Linked DNA regions of Homo sapiens: region 2 is linked to region 1. Evidence: promoter capture Hi-C in 16 types of primary human blood cells and fetal thymus (Javierre and others, 2016). All regions are on one chromosome and are shown on one strand. The core of a region is centred on a gene start or on the middle of the fragment in contact, and the rest is flanking DNA. Distances in the headings are between cores, read along the strand shown.

Evidence for each region. The method cuts DNA at HindIII sites, captures the fragments that hold promoters and counts their contacts. A CHiCAGO score of 5 or more calls a contact.
Region 2: a fragment that was not itself captured here is called in contact with the fragment with the promoter of ITGA4 in region 1 in 2 of 17 cell types (fetal thymus and neutrophils); the score reaches 6.7 in fetal thymus.

Annotation. Positions count from the first base shown.
Region 1 is chr2:181,453,736-181,459,501 of GRCh38, forward strand. ITGA4 (integrin subunit alpha 4) reads left to right here and starts at 3,651. Exons shown (of 28, transcript NM_000885.6): 1 at 3,651-4,116; 2 at 4,461-4,582. The coding sequence starts at 3,920. RefSeq lists enhancers at 3,158-3,267, 3,988-4,177, 4,238-4,287, 4,648-4,697 and a silencer at 3,448-3,837. The HindIII fragment of the contact is 9,740 bases long and covers 821-5,766 here.
Region 2 is chr2:181,924,638-181,929,824 of GRCh38, forward strand. It overlaps ITPRID2 (ITPR interacting domain containing 2), which reads left to right. Exons shown (of 18, transcript NM_001130445.3): 17 at 3,524-3,641; 18 at 4,924-5,187. The coding sequence ends at 3,628. Among named protein-coding and RNA genes, the nearest start is that of ITPRID2, 36 kb to the left of the region's middle. The HindIII fragment of the contact is 1,969 bases long and covers 2,896-4,864 here.

The DNA of each region.
Region 1 (5,766 bases), core at 2,401-4,900:
TATATTTCTGGGTTTTTGTGTCCTCTTCGATTTCTTTTATCAGAGTTTTATTTATAGTTTTTCCTTGCATAGATATTTTACTTTTTTAGTTAAATTGATTCCTAGGTATTGTACATTTTTGTAGCTATTGTAAAAGGAACTGCTTTCTTGATTTTTATTCAGATTGTTCACTGTTGTCATATAAATGCTATTGATTTTTGTATGTTGATTTTGCATCCTGCAACTTTACTGAATCAGATCTAACAGCTTTTAGGTGGACTCTTTAGATTTTTCTAGGTATAAGATCATGTAGTCTGCAAACAAACCTAATTTGACTTCTTCCTTTCCAATTTGGATACCCTTCCTTTCTTCCTCTTGCCTGATAGCTCTGGCCAGGACTTTCTGTACTACGTAGAATAACAGTGGTGAGAGGGGGTATCCTTGTCTGTTTCAGCCCTTGGAGGAAAGGCCTTCATTTTTTCTGTGTTCAGTATGATGTTGACTGTAGGTTTGTCATATATGGCCTTCATTATTTTGAAGTATGTTCCTTCTATATCCATTTTGGTGAGAATTTTTATCATAAAGGAATGTTGAATTTTATCAAATGCTATCTCAGCATCTATTGAAATAAGTATACCGTTTCTGTTTTTGATTCTGTTAATGACTTATATTTAGATGGTATTTAAAGACATAGGAAATGGGTTAGATCTCCTAAAGAGGGAAGATGGAAAGAGAATGAAAGAGTTTCCAGAATATAGCCCTGGGGGTTTCCCGCACTTATGGCGGAGGGAAGGGAGCCATCAGAGGAAACTCAGAGTGGCCAGATAGAAAGGCAGGAAAAAGCTTAATAAGGTGGTATCATGAGAAGAGAGTCTTCCTAGAAGGAGAAATGCTTACTCTTGATAAAAACTGAAAAATAGGGTGAGTCCACATTAGAATTCTCGCTACTGGGGAGGACTTTCTACACAAGGTTAGAGATCACTTGTATTTTGTCTACTATAATTTTAGTGCATAATGCATTTTTTTGGCATATAGTGGGCACTTATATACATATTAATCTGATGACATTTAATAATTGAGTGCCCAAATATTTATGTCGAGTTGAGAGCTAGGGATAGGCATGAGTCTTTCTTAAACATCCTTCTCTTCTCCTTCCTCCACCCCCTCACTTGCCTTCAGAAGCATTGATCAGAGAGATAGCAGTATCTTCAGTTTTTTTTAAAGCAACATGAAACACACTTTATTCCTGCTAACATTAGGAAAAGCGAGCTGTTTTCCAAGCCCTGGAGGAAGGAAATTCAGCTAACTAACGTGAGGTAATGTAGGGTGGCTATTTCTTGAAAGGTAGTGAATCATAACTATAACCATACTATGGAAAAAAGTCCTGCCTTACCAACCACTCCACTGACTGCTTGTCACCAAAACTACGCTATGAAACGAATTGTGTTGAGTGGCTTTCATTGTAAAAGATTTTGGTGAAGGGAGGGAAAGAAACTGGTAGGGGTTCAGATCAGAAGATCTGGCTTTGCCAGTTTCTGGAGGGTGTCAGAATGGCTTCAACATACCTACTTCCTTGGCCTCAACTGGAGGTTTTGTAGCTGTAAACAAGAAGGATTGCATAGTTCAGAATAACGACACTGTAAGCTCATTGTGGAACTGGGTTAAAATCAGCATGTAGATCTACTAAGAAAGAAACACACTCAGCACTACTACAGAAAGAAACAGCCATGGGCCCTGATTGTTAGCTTTCTGGAAGCCATTTCATTTTTACAATAGATTTATCACACACTGTATTGACTTTTTCCAGTATAGAGTAAGAGAAAGTTAATATTCCTCATGTTTTGTCTGTTGACAGACTGAAAATAATTGCATTGAGTTTGGCTAGAATATCCTGTCATTCCATAAACATCTCAAACTCCACATGGCTAAAACTTAACCCATCCATGCCCCCATCTGCATGCACACATACATGCATATAACTTCATTTCTCAGTGTTTTTTTCTCCATGAATGGTAGCACCATTCTCTTTCAAGAAAGAGAAATACTTCCCCTTGGGATTATCCTATCTCTACTTATTGCTGCAGGGGCTTCCAAAATTAGGTTTTCTGTGTTCAGTCTTGCATTCACACTTCTGAAACCCAGAGCTGACCGAGACAAATTCTTCAACTTCCTGTCAGTCCCAACATAGATTTAAAATTCCTAACCTGGCTCATGAGGTTCACCATGTATTCCTGCTTCCCTAAGTCAGCCTCATATCACACCAACCTGTGTGTGGAGTGGCTAAATACTCTAGCCAGGCAAGCTCTCTCAGTTCTTCTACCTGGCTCCTCTGGAGCCCTCCTTATTGCTCATCCCATTCTTAGCCTGATTCAAGATTCCTGGTCCTTCAAATCTCTCTTTAAGTGTCCTTACCTGGATCTTTCTCTAGTTAGTACAAATTTTTCTATCTACCATTGGAGCGAACATTTTTTGAAACTTTGTATCAGTCCTGCCTTACTCTTGGTGGAATCCTGTGGTCCTAGTCAAGTGCCTGCTCCATGAATGTGCTGAATAAATGAATAAGCATTTTAATTGTGTATCTGTCATTAGTGTCAGATGTGTTATTTATTCCAGCATGGTTTTAGCACACAGACACACTCTTTGATGCAGACTTTTCTTTTCTTTTTACATATAGCAACAATAAAAAACTAGACTTTCATCTCCTGAAAATATCAGTCTAATAATCACCTATGGCTGTCTCTCTGGTTGCTGAAGGAAAAAAAAAAAAAAGGCAGGGCACACCTGGATTGCATTAGAATGAGACTCACTACCCAGTTCAGGTGTGTTGCGTTGTGGGTCTCCGGCACATTTCAGAGGCTCATTAGGACCCTGACCCCACACTGGGGTTTACACCCCTAAAAGCAGGTGTGTCCCGTGGCAACTGAGTGGGTGCGTGAAAAGGGGGGATCATCAATTACCAGCTGGAGCAATCCGAATCGGTTAAAGTGAATCAAGTCACAGTGCTTCCTTAACCCAACCTCTCTGTTGGGGTCAGCCACAGCCTAAACCGCCTGCCGTTCAGCCTGAGAGGCTGCTGCTAGCCTGCTCACGCATGCAGCCCGGGCTGCAGAGGAAGTGTGGGGAGGAAGGAAGTGGGTATAGAAGGGTGCTGAGATGTGGGTCTTGAAGAGAATAGCCATAACGTCTTTGTCACTAAAATGTTCCCCAGGGGCCTTCGGCGAGTCTTTTTGTTTGGTTTTTTGTTTTTAATCTGTGGCTCTTGATAATTTATCTAGTGGTTGCCTACACCTGAAAAACAAGACACAGTGTTTAACTATCAACGAAAGAACTGGACGGCTCCCCGCCGCAGTCCCACTCCCCGAGTTTGTGGCTGGCATTTGGGCCACGCCGGGCTGGGCGGTCACAGCGAGGGGCGCGCAGTTTGGGGTCACACAGCTCCGCTTCTAGGCCCCAACCACCGTTAAAAGGGGAAGCCCGTGCCCCATCAGGTCCGCTCTTGCTGAGCCCAGAGCCATCCCGCGCTCTGCGGGCTGGGAGGCCCGGGCCAGGACGCGAGTCCTGCGCAGCCGAGGTTCCCCAGCGCCCCCTGCAGCCGCGCGTAGGCAGAGACGGAGCCCGGCCCTGCGCCTCCGCACCACGCCCGGGACCCCACCCAGCGGCCCGTACCCGGAGAAGCAGCGCGAGCACCCGAAGCTCCCGGCTGGCGGCAGAAACCGGGAGTGGGGCCGGGCGAGTGCGCGGCATCCCAGGCCGGCCCGAACGCTCCGCCCGCGGTGGGCCGACTTCCCCTCCTCTTCCCTCTCTCCTTCCTTTAGCCCGCTGGCGCCGGACACGCTGCGCCTCATCTCTTGGGGCGTTCTTCCCCGTTGGCCAACCGTCGCATCCCGTGCAACTTTGGGGTAGTGGCCGTTTAGTGTTGAATGTTCCCCACCGAGAGCGCATGGCTTGGGAAGCGAGGCGCGAACCCGGCCCCCGAAGGGCCGCCGTCCGGGAGACGGTGATGCTGTTGCTGTGCCTGGGGGTCCCGACCGGCCGCCCCTACAACGTGGACACTGAGAGCGCGCTGCTTTACCAGGGCCCCCACAACACGCTGTTCGGCTACTCGGTCGTGCTGCACAGCCACGGGGCGAACCGATGGTGAGTAGAGTTGGACTGATGCGCCCTCAGCAGCTCAGAGCGGCGTGAGAATGGCGCCCTAGGGATTCCCTGCCCGATTCAAACTTTCCTCCCTCCCAAGGAGGCAGGAGGGAAACGCTGCGAGAGCCAGCTCGCTGGAAATCTGCCAGGGAAACTAACTTATCTTGGGGCGGCAGCGCCCCGGGTGCGTTATGGTGCAAGGTCTTGGAGCTTCGAGTCGGGGGTGGTGGGCGGAGGAGGAGGTGGGGAAGCTGCCCTGCTGCGGACTGCACATCTGTGGCGACAGGGAGCTCAGTGGGCAGCACAGCTCACGTCTGAGCGCACGTGCACGTGTCTCGCTTTAGGCTCCTAGTGGGTGCGCCCACTGCCAACTGGCTCGCCAACGCTTCAGTGATCAATCCCGGGGCGATTTACAGATGCAGGATCGGAAAGAATCCCGGCCAGACGTGCGAACAGCTCCAGCTGGGTGAGTTGGGTATGGGACCAGGAGTTAGTGACCTCCCGACCCCCCATGTGGACCCCACCATAGGGCAAGTCCTGGAAAGATTCACGTTGCCTGTTACTTCTGGTTTAAAGAGCATAAAGTTTTCAGTTTCAACTCCATCTCATCTTGCCTCCTTAATATAAAAGGGATTCCCTTTCTGTTAATATCGTTCTCCCTTTTCCTTATGGCAATGATTGCAGTACTCTGACAACTATGCTAGAGAAATTTCTTATGATACCTTCTCTTCATCTCTCCCCGTCTCTCCGTGTGTAAAGCACATTTTAGACTCTCTCAGCGTATTAAGGACAGGATCCAGCTAAGCCAAGACTTGAGAATTTTATTTCCATCTTTGACCTATCAACCCTCTTAAAGAACAGGCTAAGGAGCATATCAGGAATAGCAATTGGAATTGATCCCATATCCCGTCGTTTAACCTAAAGGCCTAAAAAAAAAAGTGATAGTTTTACTTACAATATACAATCTAAAAGAAAAGGAAAATTGGCATCTTCATCGTTAATGTAGTATAATTTTCCATTCCCAAAACCGTCATCCAAAACTCATGTTATATGGGTCCATCTTTTTGCAGTCATTTCTCAATGTCTCAGATTTGTGACAAGTTGAAAAATGTGTACTGATAGAGGGGAGAAGTTTCATGTTTCAAAGCCAAAGACAAGTTTGTTGCACACAGGCAAGTGGGGAAAGAGGAAGGAATATTAAATAACAAGACCTATCTTGTTCCAAAGTGTTACTGCTATATATATTGCTTAACTTTTTTCCCCTTAAAGCAACCCTGGGTCATGGTTGACATTGTTCCTAGTTTATGTATGAGGACTGTGGCTCAGAGTTGCAAATACCTTTTTAAAAGTTACTTAGCTAGTGACTGATAGGTGGGAACTAAAGTCAAACTAGGGTCTGAATGCGTCCAAAGTCTAAGCCATTTTCTTCCATGTATGTATCTTCAATGCAAATAAAATTAAGTGAATGGTTTAATATGTTGTCTGCTGAGCTGATGGGTCATCTGTAAACGGTGAATAAAATTGGTACTTCTTTATATTTCTTTGCTATAAATGGACTTTTGAGATTAGTTATTGGATCTTTAACTTCTTTTGTATTTTATAGTAGTCTTTGCTCTTTTTCAAACTGTGAAGCTGGTTCCCTTCATTCAG
Region 2 (5,187 bases), core at 2,630-5,129, 470 kb after region 1:
CAGGCCTTTGTTTCTTTCGTTGTACCATTAAGTGAGGTTTTTAAAAAGAGGGTTTTCATCATTTATAATGTGTTAATACAGTAGAATTCTTTTTTTGAAGGACAACATTGAAAGTCTTTTCAGACAAATATTTAATACACTAATTACATAGCTAAACTTTTGTCATATTAAAGATACCTCTTTTCTGCATGTGCATTGTACTAGGAAAAAAGTACACACTGTCTTAAAATTTGCCCAAGTCATCTGTGATGTATGTGATCAGTGGCCTGAAACTGTTTGCAGTTACTTTAAAAATGTATAAATGTGTGTAAATAAAAAGATTACTTAATAGGATGAATGAATACATGCCCACAGAAGCCAATTCAGCAAAATTAAATGTCAAGGAGTAAACATAGATTGCTTTGTGTTTAGAGAGTTATTTGTTAATTAGAGTTCATAGACTTGATTCATGCCTTTTGGGATCTTTATTAGAGCACGTCTGACATGTTTTACCCATGTATTTTGGTAAATACACAGCTTGCTCATGTGTTCTTATGGAAATTTCTTTTAGTGATCACTTGTAATAGCTGCCACTTAGTAGGCACTCAGTAAGTGCATAATAAGTGGATGTGTTCCCACATACTTCAGACTTGTAGTCAGTCTTTTTGTATTGTCGATCAGCATGACTTTCTCAATCTCAGGTAGTCTGTATTTAGCCTACATTTTTTTGGAAATTATGCTCATAAAGGTAATTTTACCATCCATCCCAGGGTAGTTTCCTCACTTCTAATCCTTCCAACCTCTCCATAGCATGGGAGACTTTAGAACTAAATTATTTGTCCATGCATTTATTCATTCAATAAATTAATAAAGACATTGTATCATTTTCAGGGCCATTTTATCTGTAGTCTGCTTTCGTTTTTCTGCTTTCTCTTCCTTTTTGTGTCTGATATTGTCTCTCACCCTTGTGCTTTCTCACTCTCTCATTGATTCATTCATTCAGACGCTTACTGAGTTCTTACTGTATGCTGAGATACACTGATAAATGAGACCTGACCTGCTCGCTGAAGGAGCTCACAGTACACCTTCCATCTGACCTCACCCTTCCTATTCTGATTCCCTTCTGCTCTCTAGAGGGAACTGTCTTGGCAGTCAGGCTCCATTATACTCCCCTCTTATTTGAGACCGTCTTGCTACAGAGTTTTCTATCTCCACTGTCATCTGAAATTGTTCTTTCTTTGTTGTGACATACCATGTAAAAGCTGCCATTCTCTGAGAATTTTGTCCCACACTAGTCTCTCATTTATCAAAATTTTTTGTTCTTATGTCATTAATGAATCAATAAATTATTTTTCCTTTAGTATTTTATGAAACCGACGAGGTGTGGTGGCTCACGCCTGTAATCACAGCACTTTGGGAGGCCGAGGTGGGCGGATCACCTGAGGTCAGGAGTTCGAGACCAGCCTGGCCAACATGGTGAAACCCCATCTCTACTAAAAATACAAAAATTAGCCAGGTGTGGTGGTAATCCCAGCTATGCAGGAGGCTGAGGCAGGAGAATTACTTGAACGTGGGAGGCAGAGGTTGCAGTGAGCCGAGATTGCGCCCCTACACTCCACTCTGGATGACACAGCAAGACTCTGTCACAAAAATAAATAAATAAGAAATATATTTTATGAAACAGTATTCATTTTGTGTCCATTGAGATTATATCATGCTTGATGGTAGGGATTCTTTTATACTTTATTCCAATAATGCCTGTACTCCCAAAAAAGATTGGCACACATTCCTGGTTTGTCAAGAATACATTTTGGCGACTGGGCGCGGTGGCTCACGCCTGTAATCCCAGCACTTTGGGAGGCCAAGGCGGGTGGATCACAAGGTCAGGAGATCGAGACCATCTTGGCTAACATGGTGAAACCCCGTCTCTACTAAAAATACAAAAAATTAGCCGGGCGTGGTGGCGGGTGCCTGTAGTCCCAGCTACTCAGGAGGCTGAAGCAGGAGAATGGCGTGAACCCAGGAGGCGGAGCTTGCAGTGAGCCGATATTGTACCGCTGCACTCCAACCTGGGTGACAGAGTGAGAATCCATCTCAAAAAAAAAAAAAAAAAAGAGAATACATTTTGGCTAGTTTGTTTTTTGAGTGATGAAGAATAATGAGATATAATAAAATGGCCATATTGCATTGGTAGCAGGACTGGAAAGACTATACTCATTGTTGTGAATATAGATTTGCAGTGGTCCTAATTCAGTATGTTGTATTTCTGTTTATATACTGTGACTAAGAGATTCTGGTTTTTAAAATATTTGTATCCAACACATACTTGTTTGAAAAGTAAATCTGAAGTGCTGTGTGCTTCAGAATCTTCTGATGTTGTTTAAAGTTTAGAAATATTGATAAAAGGTAAAGTGAAAAGCTTATAGTATTTAAATATATTCCAGTACAGATGGTTGGTAGCTAAGGAGTGTTTTGTTTCTTTAAATAACTATGTATAAATCTATGTATTGTGTACCAATTTTGCATGATAGACTAATACAGGACCATTTTTGGAAAGATTATAGTTAAGATGTGTTTGAGATGTACTTAGGAACATTGTAGGAAATAAATCAATTTGGCTGACAGGAAACTGGAAATGTAGAATTTTTAAAAGCTTGTTGAGAGTATCTTGAGTGCTTATTTGGGAACACATTATCACTTTATTTCAGGAAATACACATTTATAGCTTTCACAAAGGGCTATTTAAAAGTGATGCTGTATCATTAGAGAGAAAAGGTGGAGATAGGCATATGTAAGTGTTTGGACACCTGTAGAAGAAAATCCTGATGGAATTGTCATTTCCTCAGGTCTGTTTGCCTTTTCCAACAATAAAATGAGATGTATATCCTCATATCCTATATGCATATTGGAAACAAAAGCTTAGATGGCTGGCAGTGATACCATGCAACTAAAGAAAAAGTTATTTCTTTAGAGTTTATGGTTGTTTTGAGGATGTTTTTTATATTATAAAATAAATTGTACTAAATGATAATTTCTTCTTCCCATTTTAAATGTGTTAGGTTGAACAATATGTCTTTAGATACCTTGCTGTCAGTTGGCATAAACAGGCAGTATACCTGTATACTATTTTGCCTCTAAAAGATTTTCTCAGCAATGAGAGCACTTGTGTCTCTGCTGATTACCTTACAAAGTTAGACAATACTAAAAACATTTAAGAAGTCCTTCCAGATTATTTTTTTGACATGAGGTAAAGTATTTACTAGAAGTTTTTTAACTTATGAAATAACATTTTCTAATGTCCTCACCTTATGAATTGTGATATTTGTAATCTAGTTAGCTGAACAATTCTAGACCAGTCCTTGGGAGTCTGATCTGGGTTGGATGATAGATGGACTCGATTCCCCACTCCCTCTCTGTATTGCAGGGAGATTCACATGAAGGTGAAATTAAGAAATTGAATGCTATTTGTATTTTTTCCAAAAACAGGAAAAAATGAATTCCATTCATATTGGTAAATTTTTGTTTTATTGTTTTTCCAATCTAGATTAAAGAGTCTATTGTTGGGGAAATCAGACGGGAAATTGTAAGTGGACTTTTGGCAGCAGTATCTTCAAGTAAAGCGTCTAATTCTAAGCAAGATTATCATTAAACAGAAATTATAGGTAAATTTTTCTGAGTTTCTTTGTTGAGCTAAATGTAAATAGTAACTGGCATTTTATTCTTTGTTTTGTTAGTATACAGGTTTGGTTCTCTAGTTAAATTTTGAGTTTTAGAATGTATGTAATATGTTATTTTACAATGTGAAAATTTCACACAAGCCTATTTGAAGTGTAAGTCAAATCCCATAATACAAATCTCCAAGGAATTACTTATATTGGGTCATTCTACTGAAATTTCATTATAGTAATAAATCCTGGAATTGGACCTTCAAACCTGAATCTTATTTTGATTATAATGGTATTTCAGATGTATAGTTTTAAAGAACAAGATTTTGTGAATTAATCACAACTTCCTTTTTTTTTTTTTTGAGACAGAGTCTCGCTCTGTCGCCCAGGCTGGAGTGCAGTGGCGGGATCTCGGCTCACTGCAAGCTCCGCCTCCCGGGTTCACGCCATTCTCCTGCCTCAGCCTCCCAAGTAGCTGGGACTACAGGCGCCAGCCACTACGCCCGGCTAATTTTTTGTATTTTTTAGTAGAGACGGGGTTTCACCGTTTTAGCCGGGATGGTCTCGATCTCCTGACCTCGTGATCCGCCCGCCTCGGCCTCCCAAAGTGCTGGGATTACAGGCGTGAGCCACCGCGCCCGGCCGAATTAATCACAACTTCTAAGTATCTTTCCTAATTATTTTTATCTTTTAAAGAAACATATCCCATAGATTCATTTCTAATAATAATTTATTTCAAAAAACTCTTTTATATGTCTGTCTTAGTAAAACGAATTACTTTCATTTTATCTCGTAGCTCTAATTACATTAAAAAATTTTTTTGTAGAGATGGGGTCTTGCTATGTTGCCCACGCTAGTCTTAAACTCCTAGCCTCAAGCGATCCTCCTGCTTTAGCTCTAACTTCATTTTATATAATATATATTAATAATAATTCTTGGTGAATGCAAAAAGAAAGAATAAGTTGAGTAGAATAGAACTAAAAATATTCATTGAATAAGACATGAGAAACAAATGTAATTTGAAAAGTATAATATACAATTTCAGATATAGGAAATTGGAAAGTATTTTAATAAATTATGTCACAAAGCAATTAATAGGAATTATTTTTTTTAAAGCCAGGGATATAAGAATTAACTCTCAGGAAGATGTATAGAGATTACAGGATAATCATGTTTCTGTGTATATATATTTGCATAAAATTCTCATCTTCCTTTAAAGAAGCTTTTAATAACAGTATTTGAAAGAGGTTTAAAACTGACTTCTCTTTTCTTTTTTAAGGTTGGCATGGATCCTATTAGCTGTGTAATACTGGAATTATCAATGATATGCACTGGTGGAGGTGTTATTTGTGCTTTAGAAGATACTTGCTGTTGAGCTGGGCTACTGTATACAGTGTACAATGTGTATTTCTTCAACCATATATTTTAAAAAGACGTACATAGAAACTTAGGCACTTTGCTATTTCTTTTCTAAACTATCAAAAACTCTAGCAGTTTGAAAAGCCTAATATTTATTTGTATGTCAGTATTTTTCATTTGATTC